Regions from separate parts of the Homo sapiens genome. Here region 1 is linked to region 2. The links are contacts of gene promoters, found by promoter capture Hi-C in human tissues and cell types (Jung and others, 2019). All regions are on one chromosome and are shown on one strand. The core of a region is centred on a gene start or on the middle of the fragment in contact, and the rest is flanking DNA. Distances in the headings are between cores, read along the strand shown.

Region 1 (5,503 bases), core at 1,419-3,918, 270 kb after region 2:
ATTTTAAGCTGCAGGCTCTTTCTTAAGAAAGAGCACATGCAGGAAGCTGTTTCTGATCTCCCTGTTTCTGCCTAAAAGAAGGTCACAAAGTTTCCCATGATACAAATCCCCCCACCCCTTCCCACTGTATTAGAAAGCAAAAATTGTTCTCGTCACCAGAAGTTATGAGTCAACACTGGAATGGACCTATGCAAACAAGCTTACTAAAATAACCCTAATCTCCTCATAGTTTTCCCCATACATTTCCTAGTTACAAACCCACAATTTACTGCCCCTAGCTCCCTACCTAAATCTCCTTTGTATTATCACTTACTGACAATTTATTATTCTTTGTTTAAAGTGATATATAAGCTTTTGGGCCTAAAAGGTTCTTTGACCTTCATTTTCCTTCTGAAGACTCCTGTGTACACATAAAAATACATTTGTATGCTCTTTTCCTATTAATCTGTATTATGCCAGTTTAATTCTTATATCACCACAGAATGTAAGAGGATAAAGAAGGTTTTGTTCCCCTACAAAGATATTGTAAACAACTGTAAACAGGGAATTTCTTTCTTAATTTCCAAAAATTATTTTTAAAAATGTACCCCAAATTATTTAACCATTCAAAAGAATCACAAATTTTCAAAATGTTAAGAATCAGAATATTTTTTATACCAGGGAAAAAGTATCTCTTTTTTATGGAATTAAAGTTACAGTCCAAGATATGTTAAAAAAAAAAAAAAAACCTAAACTGAATATTTATGGTTAATAGGAGCGCCCATGTCACCTGTTTATGTTCTTATTTCAGAATTAGAAAGACTCACAAAGAAGCCACATATAAATTCATTTAATACTTTATGTAGACTAAAAAATTTTTTTAATCTTACAAATGAAAGATACCTTAATGTCATTGTCTCACCGACATCACAAATTCATCCAAAGCCAAATCCAATAACGTCATCTGAGTTTAGGGATATTACATATACTAACACCTAAAGAAAATTATTTTTATTGGAATTTTATTTCTTAAATTTAGAAAAATACACCTTCTCATAAAATTTCTGCCATTGTTTCTATTTTTGCTTTTTAAAGTGAATGATAATCTTTGTAAACTTTATTTTGATGACAACTTTTTAAATAGTTTGAAATTGAATACATATTTTTTTCTATATTCAATGTTTCCAGTTCTAACTATTTTTATATATGTGAGAGGATTTCAAGGCCAATCACTTTTTTTTACCCATATCTAAAGGTCCTTAGAGATGCCTATTCTCTTATATGGTTTGACTCATGCCATTACAAAGTCATCAACTGGATGGTCAACTGTGTATTCATGCTAATAATACCAGTTTTGCTGTTTTGTGGCTATGATGGTTGGCTCAGAGCAAAATTTGCTGGATGTGTTCTATCCTAGTTTTTACCATATTCATACATTATTTTAGAATTTATGTTTTTAATGAAATGTTCTAACTTAAAAATTATTTTCATATGCATTATAGTCCTTATTTTTTTTCAGTATTTCAAGGTATGCTGTGCCTAAATATGTGCCTTTTAATTTATATGGAAATTAAACTCAGTAAGATTAATGTGTTAGGAACTATAATATAGCAGAACATTGGAAGAGTCGAGACATTGGAAGAGTCGAGACCAGAACCACATTCCTTTCACTTTAACCTAATTTAATATCACTCTGAAGAGTAACTTCAGGATGCATTTGGGCCAACTGGCACTTTGTCTTATTACTATATATTAGCATGCATACAGGTATGTGTAGGCAACACACACACACACACACACACACACACACACCCCTTGAAACGTATACTTTAGATCTAGAAGGGACTTTAGTGTAGTGATAACTTGGGAGAAGTGGCGAGAAAATTAGCCTATATATCAAATCCTGCGTTCTCTTCACGAATATTCAAGCCCAGAATATTATTGTGAAGTTTCAATTATAGAGCACATAGTATCCAAATTTCAACTTGACATTTGAAGTTATGTGTCACCACTATGAAGCTTCTTTTGACACAATTCAAAATGTTTAGTTTTGTTTGCCTTTATAAAGATGTAATGGCAGTAGATATGTGAAATATCAAAACATTTAATTGGATGTGAAAATAAATTAATCTTAGTATTCTTTAAAGTTCTTTTATTTTGCATTATTTTGTCTGCCTAGTGTTCAACTTCAGTTTTCTCTAATAGTGTATGAAATATATGACAGAAGTTTTAAGATTGGGTATTTTGTACATTTAGAATTATTGTCTTAATGTTTAGTCATCATATAATTTATCTAAACTTGGAAGATAATACGCAGAATTGATGTTTTTCTTTAGCAGAGTGTGTGGTTTATAATCAGTAAAATCTTGATCATTATATTATAAAACCTGTATGTAAATAATATGCTTCAGAATCTAATCAGACACACAAGTTTATTTATTCAGTTCATTATCTGTGTGTTTGTATGTATGTCTGTATCTCTGTATGTCTTACAGCTGTTATTTCAAGAAACCAAGAAGGGCCAGGAGAAATGGGAAAAGCTGTGTTGATTCCTAAAGATGACCAGGAGAAAATGAAAGAGCTGTTTAAAATCAATCAGTTTAACCTTATGGCCAGTGATTTGATTGCCCTTAATAGAAGTCTGCCAGATGTAAGATTAGAAGGGTAAGTTTGCATTTGTTATATAATCTTTTATATTCATAATCACCATATTTCAGAATCTCAGAACTTGAGCTAACTCAGATTATATCAATTCTAGCAATGTGTGGTTCTGAGTACCTATCACATAGCAGGAATTTATTGTGCATGCATATGCTGAAAAAGGCGAACTATTTTCTTCCCTGGCAAAGAAAAATACGTTACTTGCAAAGATGCTGCAAAATACTCAGGCCAAACAGGTTTTTCTATGTGAGATGTTTTTTGTTGTTGTCATTTTGTTGTGCTTTCTTTATCGTACCAGATTCAGAGCAAATATGCTCTTTAGTAGATTACAGTCGTATATTGCTTAACACTGCAGAAATGTTCTGGAAAATATGTCATTAGGCAATTTTGTCATTGTGTAAGCATCATAGGTGTACTTACACAAACCTATATGGTATAGACTACTACATTTCTAGGTTATATAATGTAGCCTATTGTTTCTAGGCTGTAACTCTGTACAGCATTTTACTGTACTGAACACTAGAGATAAATGTAACATTATGTTAAGTATTTTTGTATCTAAACATAGAAAAGGTATAGTAAAAACACGGTGTAACAGATAAAAATTTGTATACTTGTATAGGTCATGTAACATGAATGGAGCTTGCAGGACTGAAAGTTGCTCTGGGTGAGTCAGTGAGTGTGTAGTGAATGTGAAGGCTTAGGGCATTACTGTACGCTACTTGTAGACTTTATAAACACTATACACTTAGGTTATACTAAATTTCTTTTTAAAATTTCTTTCTTCAGTAATGAATTAACCTTACATTACTGTGATATTTTTACTTCATAAAGTCTTGAATTTTTTTCACTTTTAAACTGTTTAGTATTAATACTTACCTTAAAACACAAGCATACTATACAGCTGTAAAAAATATTTTCTTTCTTTATATCCTTATTCTATTAGTTTTTTTCCATTTTTAATGTGATTTTCAATTTTTTCTTTTAAAAACGAAGACACAAACATACACATTAGCCTAGGTCTATTCGGGGTCAGGATCATCAAACATCACTAGGCAATAGGAATCTTTCTGATTCATTATAATCTTATGAGACTCTCATCATATATGTGATCTGTCATTGGGTAATGCATGGCTGTATTTGCCTTACTGCATAAAAAGGTCCATATACTTTGCTTATAAAAAGTATACCTGCATTGCTTTTCCAGCACAAAAATAGCTCATTGTCTATATGACTCTTTCACCCTATAAAAGTGGTTTATTATGGTTTCCAGCAATTTATACTGCTGTTTATAATTAGAATGCTTAATTATCAGCTATGGAAGAAATATGCACTTGGAAATAATATTGCACGAAAAATGATGTTGAAAAATTCAACTTTTATGTGATTAACTGTAAGCTATGCTCTAGATAGTTGAACATATTTTAAACAGATGTAATAAAATGAAAGTATTTAGTGGCAGAATTGTAATTCTAATATATGGTCCTCGTAAAACAAACTCTTGGCATTAATAAAAGATGTGTCTTGAGATTTTAGAAAATCTCCAGGTTTACAAATATACTGCAGGACACACTTCCATGTAAATAGAAATTGTTCTTTTAAGCACTTAGTGATTTTTCTCTACATGCAATAGAACATAATTAATGCAAATAAAATTTGCCACCTCTAGTGGGCTACATTACACTACTGTGTCATGATATTAGCATCATATTTACTAACTCTTATTTTTTTCTTTCTGAATTACTTCATATAATATGAAAACCTTGGCTGGGCTTGGTGGCTCATGCCTGTAATCCTAGCACTTTAGGAGGCCAAGGCAGGCGGATCACCTTAGGTCAGGAGTTTGAGAGCAGCCTGACCAATATGGTAAAACCCCATCTCCACTAAAAATACAAAATTAGCCAGGCGTGGTGTTGCATGCCTGTAATCCCAGCTACTCAGGAGGCTGAGGCAGGAGAATTGCTTGAACCTGAGAGGCAGAAGTTGGAGTGAGCCGAGATTTTGCCATTGCACTCCAGCCTGGGCAACAAGAGCGAAACTCTGTCTCAAAAAAAAAAAAAAAAAAAAAAAAGAAAGGAAAAGAAAAAAGAAAACCCTGTTGAGATTCCAGGGCTTGTAATTGTCAGAGGTTTATTTGGTATCTTAGCAACTGCTTTGTGACAACCATTGTATACTTTTGAAATGTCTCTCTCAACAAAATCACAAGTAATTACATATTGTGGACATTTTTGGCCCCTGGGGAATAGTTCAACATTTAATATTAAATTTGTGCATTGCAAATTATTATGTAAAAATAATTTTACATGTAGTCCTGTGCATATGTGTGTGTGTGTGTGTATATATATATATATATTTGTTTGTATATAGATACATTTAAAAGTACATACAATAAGCATATACAAAAAATATATACAATAAACAGTCTTCGAAGCAATTTTGAGCATTTTAGATGCTAAGTTTATAATGTTTAAACATTGCATTTATTACTTTGTTTTATATGCTGTAGTATGCTGTAGTGCAATGGTCCCCAACCTTTTGGCACTGGGGACCAGTTTTGTGGAAGACAATTTTTTTACACATTTGGAGGTGGTGGATTGGGGGTTGGGGGTGATTTCAAGACGAAACTGTTCTAACTCAGTTGATCAGGCATTAGATTCTCATAAGGAGCACACAGCCTAGATCCTTCGCATGCGCAGTTCACAATAGGGTTTGTGCTCTTATGAAAATCTAATGCAGTGGCTGATCTGACAGGACACTGAGTTCAGGTGATAATGCTTGCTCTCAGGCAGCTCACCTCCTGCTGTGTGGCTGGGTTCCTATAACAGGCCAGGACCAGTACTGGTTTTCAGCCCCAGGAACCTCT
Region 2 (5,971 bases), core at 2,758-5,257:
TTCACTGGCTCACCCATCCCTCATATCCTTCTGTGTGGCCCAGTTCCTAACAGGCCATGGACTGCCATAGGTCTGTGGTTCGGGGGTTGCAGACCTTTGGGTTAGGACATACCTCAGCAAAATGTAGTATTCATGAAGGCAGGATCTATATCTTTTTTCTCACTGCTAGACAGTGCTAGGCATTTTCTTCTTCTCACTGGTAGGCACTGGGAATATAGCAGTGAGCATTAGCCTTAGCTCACTGCTGTATTCCCAGTTCCTAGTAAATAACTGTCATTCTGTAAGTGCTCAATGTATATTCATGGGATGTATGACTGAACCCTAAGTTTTGTGCAGGCTGTCTTTACTTTCCTCTTTGTCTTCAAAACCTATTGCAGTGCTTAGCTCATTGTAAGTACAAAGGAGGTAAGCAGAGCCCCAGAGTATAAAGGTTCTTATAGGGCATGTTAGAGATTTTAGACAATTTCTTAAAATCAATGAGAAGCCACTTAAATGTTATAATTAGAAGAAAATATTATTAGATTTCATTTTAGAAAATAAAGTTATTGCTTTCAGTGTCCCTTAATAATGGCATCTCCATCATCCTACTCATCCAATCTTAATCTCTTAAAGTTATATAATACATTTTCCTTTATCCATCATTCCTAATAATTTGCCAAAACCTGGTAATTTAATTTCAGCAAGACATAACTATCTCACCCTTTATTTCCCTTTAGAATGAGCGCCTTGGTTAATCACATAATGGACAATTGTAGCTGCTAAACTCATATCCCTGTCTTTTGTATACTCTGTAGCTAAGGCCCTATACATTTGGCCTTATATTGGCCAATAGACATTCTTGGCCTGGTAGCCCTTGTATTGGCCTTATAGCCAAGAATTGTACAGTATTGGTCTTACCATTTATCTAAGCAAATACTTGCAATAGCTCCACTTTGATTAAAGATAAATGCCAAACTTTCTGTTTGAAAAAATATGACTTTTTAATAACTTTCAACACTCATTCAGATAAATTATTGTGGTTATTATTCTTATGAGGTAAATAATGATAACTACCTGATTTTTAAAAAAGTATTTAAACTTCAAGAAATATTGCAAAATTACTACAAAGAATTAACACATACCCCTCACCAAAATTTACCAATGGTGTTATAAAAGGTTGCCACATTTGCATCATCATTCTCTCTATAGGTATTTCTGGACCTTACAACCTCTATGTTCTTTTTACTGCAAAATATTTTATTATATTTTTTAAAGATCCAGGGCTTTCTTATATATGATCACAATACAATTAAATTAGGACACTTAATATTGATATAAAACTAATTTGATTATAAATAAAAGTCATACAGTTTAGATATTATAGTTTTTATTAATATTTTGAATTAGATTGTCTCAGTAATGCTCTTTATATTAATAGATATTATTCCCAGTTTGCTCTCCAATTCTGGATTACACATTGCATTTAGTAGTCATGGTTTTTAAATCTCCATTAGTCTGGAATATTTCCTCAGCTTTTCTTTGACTTTCATCACAGTGACATTTTTGAAAAGTATAGGCAAGATATTGTGTAGAATTTTCCTTAATTTAAGGCTTTCTTTGCTTTCTCGTGATTGCATTCAATTATGCATTTTTTAATCTGGAATCCTAAATCAATAATGTTATGTACTTCTCAGTGCATCATATCATGAGGCTCATGATATCACTTGGTCCCATTATTGGTGACTTTAACCTTGGTCAGTTGGTTAAGGTGATGTTTACCAGATTTATCCACTACATGTAATTTATTATTCGTTTGTAATTAAGGATCTATAGTATATTATAAAAACAGCCTCAAGTTATTTTTGTGTATGCATTCTCCTTGAAATATGGCATTATAGTTTCTCCCATCAAGACATGGACTATATTATCTATGTTTGGGCCATGTAACTTCCATGGCTAATGAGACACCAGCAAATGTACGTCCACAGAATCTCAGAGTACTTCACATTGGAGCTTGCACTCCCTTGTTGCTTTTTGGAGCCCTGCAACTACGACTACTGCTAGCCTATTGAAGGATGATGGGCTAGATTAAACAAAAGACAAAACATTGCAGCTGAGTCCCACACCCTCAAGACTAATAAGTATGCCACACCAGACAAGTGAGTGAAGCCATCCTAGATCTCTAAACCAAACTGAGCTAGCCAGGGCAGAAACCAACCTGACAACCCACAGAGCTTTGAGAAATTACAGATGTTTATTGGTTGGGGCTAATAAGTTTTGGAATGGTGTGTTATGCACCAAAAGCCAATACTTTCTAGGGTGATACTTTGGGACTACGTAAATATCCAATTACCCAAATAAATTTTACCAAGTTTATGATTCTGCCTAAGTTAAATATTATCACAAAGACTGCAAAATGGAATTGCGCCTTTTTTTAAGAGATGAAACATGTAAGAATGGGGGCTTATTTGTCTTTGAAAAACATAGGACTAGTAAGTAGCTGTATCAGCATCAGAACCCCAATCTTTTACCTGGTCCACAGTTTTTCTCAGTATGCCATGTAGAGGTGAGTGACCTGATGTTAGGACTGGAATTCACTAGAGAGAGCAGTAGAGAGACATTCCAGAGTGTTATGAGTGGGACCCTGTGTACTCACACATGCACAGAAGCATCTCTGGTAAATGCTCCATAATTGACGGTAGGGCAGGATGGACAATGTAGGAGGAGACATTAATACAGTTATTAACATAGAAATTTAAATGATACTTGACTCACGAAAAGATATAAAGATAATATCTCTGGAAATTGCCTTTCATGAGTATAATCAAGAATGGCATTGACATACTAGATTATGATTAATAGTATCATATGTTTGTCAAACGTGGCTGTTTAATATTTTTATGTAGTCGTTATATCCTCCCCCAATTCTGCCAAAAACATCCTATAAGATGTGTGAAGTGACACTGTGAGAAGCAAGGACCCCTGTCAGCCCTTATTACAAACAAGACAACTGACACCCGAAGGGCCAAAACTAGCCAAGAGCCACAGTGAATAAATTGCCAAGCAGGCACTTGAACTCGGCAATCCCAATTTCCTAGAAAAGTTCCTCTCCCATGGCAGTGGGGGACAGGTCCCAAGTCTTTGAGACGCTAATAATGTCTGCGTCTTAGGTTTCTGCCTTGTGCCAGGCACTGTTCTAAAATCTTTACATGTATTTAAACTCAGTACCATGGGGGTATTGGTACAACACATTAACTGAGACATTCATACGTCCAGGTACTTCGGAGTGGGTGTGTGTTTAATATCATACCTACTTGCCTGAGAAAGGAATTCAAAGCCCCACTTTTTTCTTTACCTCTTCATAAAAATTTGAGAGCCACAAGGAAGCGCTCTGTGTTTCCAGTACTCTTACAGTGCGTTCGGTGGCAGTAGTCACCGCCAACCAGAACACTAGGATCCTGCCAGGGTGTAGATACTGTAACCAACAAGAGGCCAACCTCCGTCCTTTCTGCGGAGGGCGCCGAAGCGTCAAGTACCCCGCAGCATCTCTCGGCTGGAGAGCCGACGGCAAGGGTGGGGTTGCCGGCGCTTTCCCCGAGGGCAGTCTCTGATCCTCCAGCTCCCCTCTAAGAGGCTCCCTGGTGCATTGGGCGAACGCGGTGCACGCAGGCCGGCTTTGGCGTTGTGGGGCCCCAAAGCGGCCAGGGGTCGCGAGGCGCCCTCCGGCGAGAGGAGCTGACCCCAGGGTTGCTCTTGGGGGCCGTGCCTGCCAAGTATCGCGGGACTTGCGCACATCGCAGAAGCGCCAGCTCCAGAAGCAGCTGGAGCGCGCTCGGTGCGCACCGCCCCAGCCCGGGGAGGAGCGGGAGCAGGGAGGGAGGAGGGCTGGGGGTGCTGGTTACGTAAATGATACTAGCCCAGTGAGAGGCCTCCAGGCTGGGGCTACGAGAGGAGGAGGGACCACGCGAGGAGGAGGGACCGGGAGGCGGCGGGCTGGGGTGGGAGGGGGGCGGGGGCCGGGGAGAAGTGACCAGGCGGCGGCGGCTCTGCTGAGGTGACAACGTGCTAGCAGCCCTCGCTCGCTCTGGGCGCCTCCTCGGCCTCAGCGTCCGCTCTGGCCGCGCTCGAGGAGCCCTTCAGCCCGCCGCTGCGCTATGAAGGCCCCTCTCTGGGGCTGGCCGAGGCTGGAGCCGGCTCCCTCTGCTCGCGGGCAAGTGTGAAGAGAGAGGCGCGGGCGGGAGCCGGGGCTGCGCGCGGCGCTCGCGGGCCGGCGCGGGTTCCAGGTGAGCGCGGACTCGGCGAGCCCCGCACTCGGCGCGGCCGGCCGGCGCCTGCTGGGCTTGATCTGAGGCTGAATCCCGTGTGTGGACCGCCGTTCCCTCTTCGCGGGATCGTTGGCCAGGATAGCAGGTCTCCGTCTCTTTCTCGCTTCCCCTCTTTTCCTCTTGATTGTCTGGGACGAGCTCCCTCTGGGCTGCCAGAGTGCCGGGGCTAGGTGCCGCAAAGTCCCGCGGCGAGTGCCGGGGCGCGGAGCCGAGCGCCCCGGGCCGGTCCCAGGGCAAAGGCAGGGGCGCGGGCGGACCTGGCGACGCGGCCTCCCGGGAGCTCCGAGTGCGCTCGCTTGCGGGGCTGCAGGTGTTGCGGGAGGACCGCGTGGCGCGGAACTTTCTGCCGCCGCCCACCTTCTGCTCTGCTTTTCTGGCTACCCCGGTGAGTTGTTGGTGGCGGGGGGGGGGGGGGGAGCGGCTCTGGCCCCCTCTGCGTTCTGGTGACGTTCCTCCGCGGGGGTGGCTCGGCCTCCAAGCCCAGACAACTTTCTCGCACCAGCTGCAGGCAGCCCCGGCTGCGTTGCGGGCGTTTCTACTCGACCCGACACCAGGCGCTCCCTGGGTCTTGGGTGTCTTCCTCGACGGTTGCCTTCGTATAGTGCCCCCTTTGCCTCGCTTTTTCAGAGTCCTCTTGCCTCTCATTCTCGCCGTGTGTGTCTCTGCCTCTGTTTCTCTTTCTGAGCCTTGGTCCCCTCAGTCCACACTCTCCGGCCATGTATCTGTTTTTTTCTCTTATTCTGTTTCCCTCTTTCTTTCTTGGGATATCTGTGTCCCTGTTAATCTGTCTTTCCTTTTGTCTCTCCGTTTTGCAACATTTGTTCTCTTTCTGTGTCTGCTTCTCGCAGCTTATCTCTGTCTCCCTCTGTCATCTCTCTGCCCCGTCTTCCCGAACACCAGCCCCGCGATCCCGAAGCGCCTTGGTTAGGGGAGCAAGCCCTGGCGCATCTAATGGGTATCTCCAGGTGCAGAGATTTTCCTGCGGGGTCAGTGGGGACGCGGAGGAGACAGCCTGCCCTTGTCCAGGCTGTCGTGGACCTGAAGGAGGGGCGCAAGGGGTTAGAGTGGAGGGCACCGCAGCAGGCTCCCCTTGCCGGGTCCGAGGGCGCTGCGCTGCTGCGAACCTGAGCGCACTGAGGCTGCTACTCTGGACAGCGAAAGCTGCGCAAGCCCCTCCCGCATACCCGATTCTTTGACTATGGTTAGTTGAATTTCCAGGAGGAGAGTCTGCCTCCCCAACCTTTATAGCCAGCTGCAGAAGAACGGACAGTGAGCAGGCAAACATAGATGCTTTGGGGTTCAGGGAAACTAACCTCGAAAGGGTGGGAGCTTTCTTCAGGCAAAGGTGTTGCTAGCAGAGGAGAGGAGCTTTGGGGACTGAGGTATGCCTGCCTTAAACTACCATGCATTCATTGCTTAGGAAAGCGGTTTCCTTGGAGAGATCGTGGTCAGCCTTCCCTGAAACAACATAACAACATAGAGGTTTTATTCGCAAGGCTAAAGGCACTTGGCTGCCAAAGCCCCCTTGAAATTTCTGGTATCCTTGAATATTTTCAGCTTTATGTGAAAGCTGCCTTTCCTCAGAGTCTCAGTCCGTCTCTCTCTCTTTCTCTCTCTCTCTTTTTCTGTGTCTCTCTCTCTCGCTGTCTCCCTGTCTCTCTCTCTCT

What was found. The method cuts DNA at HindIII sites, captures the fragments that hold promoters and counts their contacts. A contact is called where the count stands out against the background at its distance.
Region 1: a fragment that was not itself captured here is called in contact with the fragment with the promoter of GALNT13 in region 2 in 3 of the 25 tissues and cell types used here (aorta, hippocampus and mesenchymal stem cells).

The regions. Positions count from the first base shown.
Region 1 is chr2:154,137,863-154,143,365 of GRCh38, forward strand. It overlaps GALNT13 (polypeptide N-acetylgalactosaminyltransferase 13), which reads left to right. Exons shown (of 13, transcript NM_052917.4): 4 at 2,475-2,643. Among named protein-coding and RNA genes, the nearest start is that of GALNT13, 270 kb to the left of the region's middle. The HindIII fragment of the contact is 6,291 bases long and covers 1-5,503 here.
Region 2 is chr2:153,867,915-153,873,885 of GRCh38, forward strand. GALNT13 (polypeptide N-acetylgalactosaminyltransferase 13) reads left to right here and starts at 4,008. Exons shown (of 13, transcript NM_052917.4): 1 at 4,008-4,389. The HindIII fragment of the contact is 9,874 bases long and covers 1-5,971 here.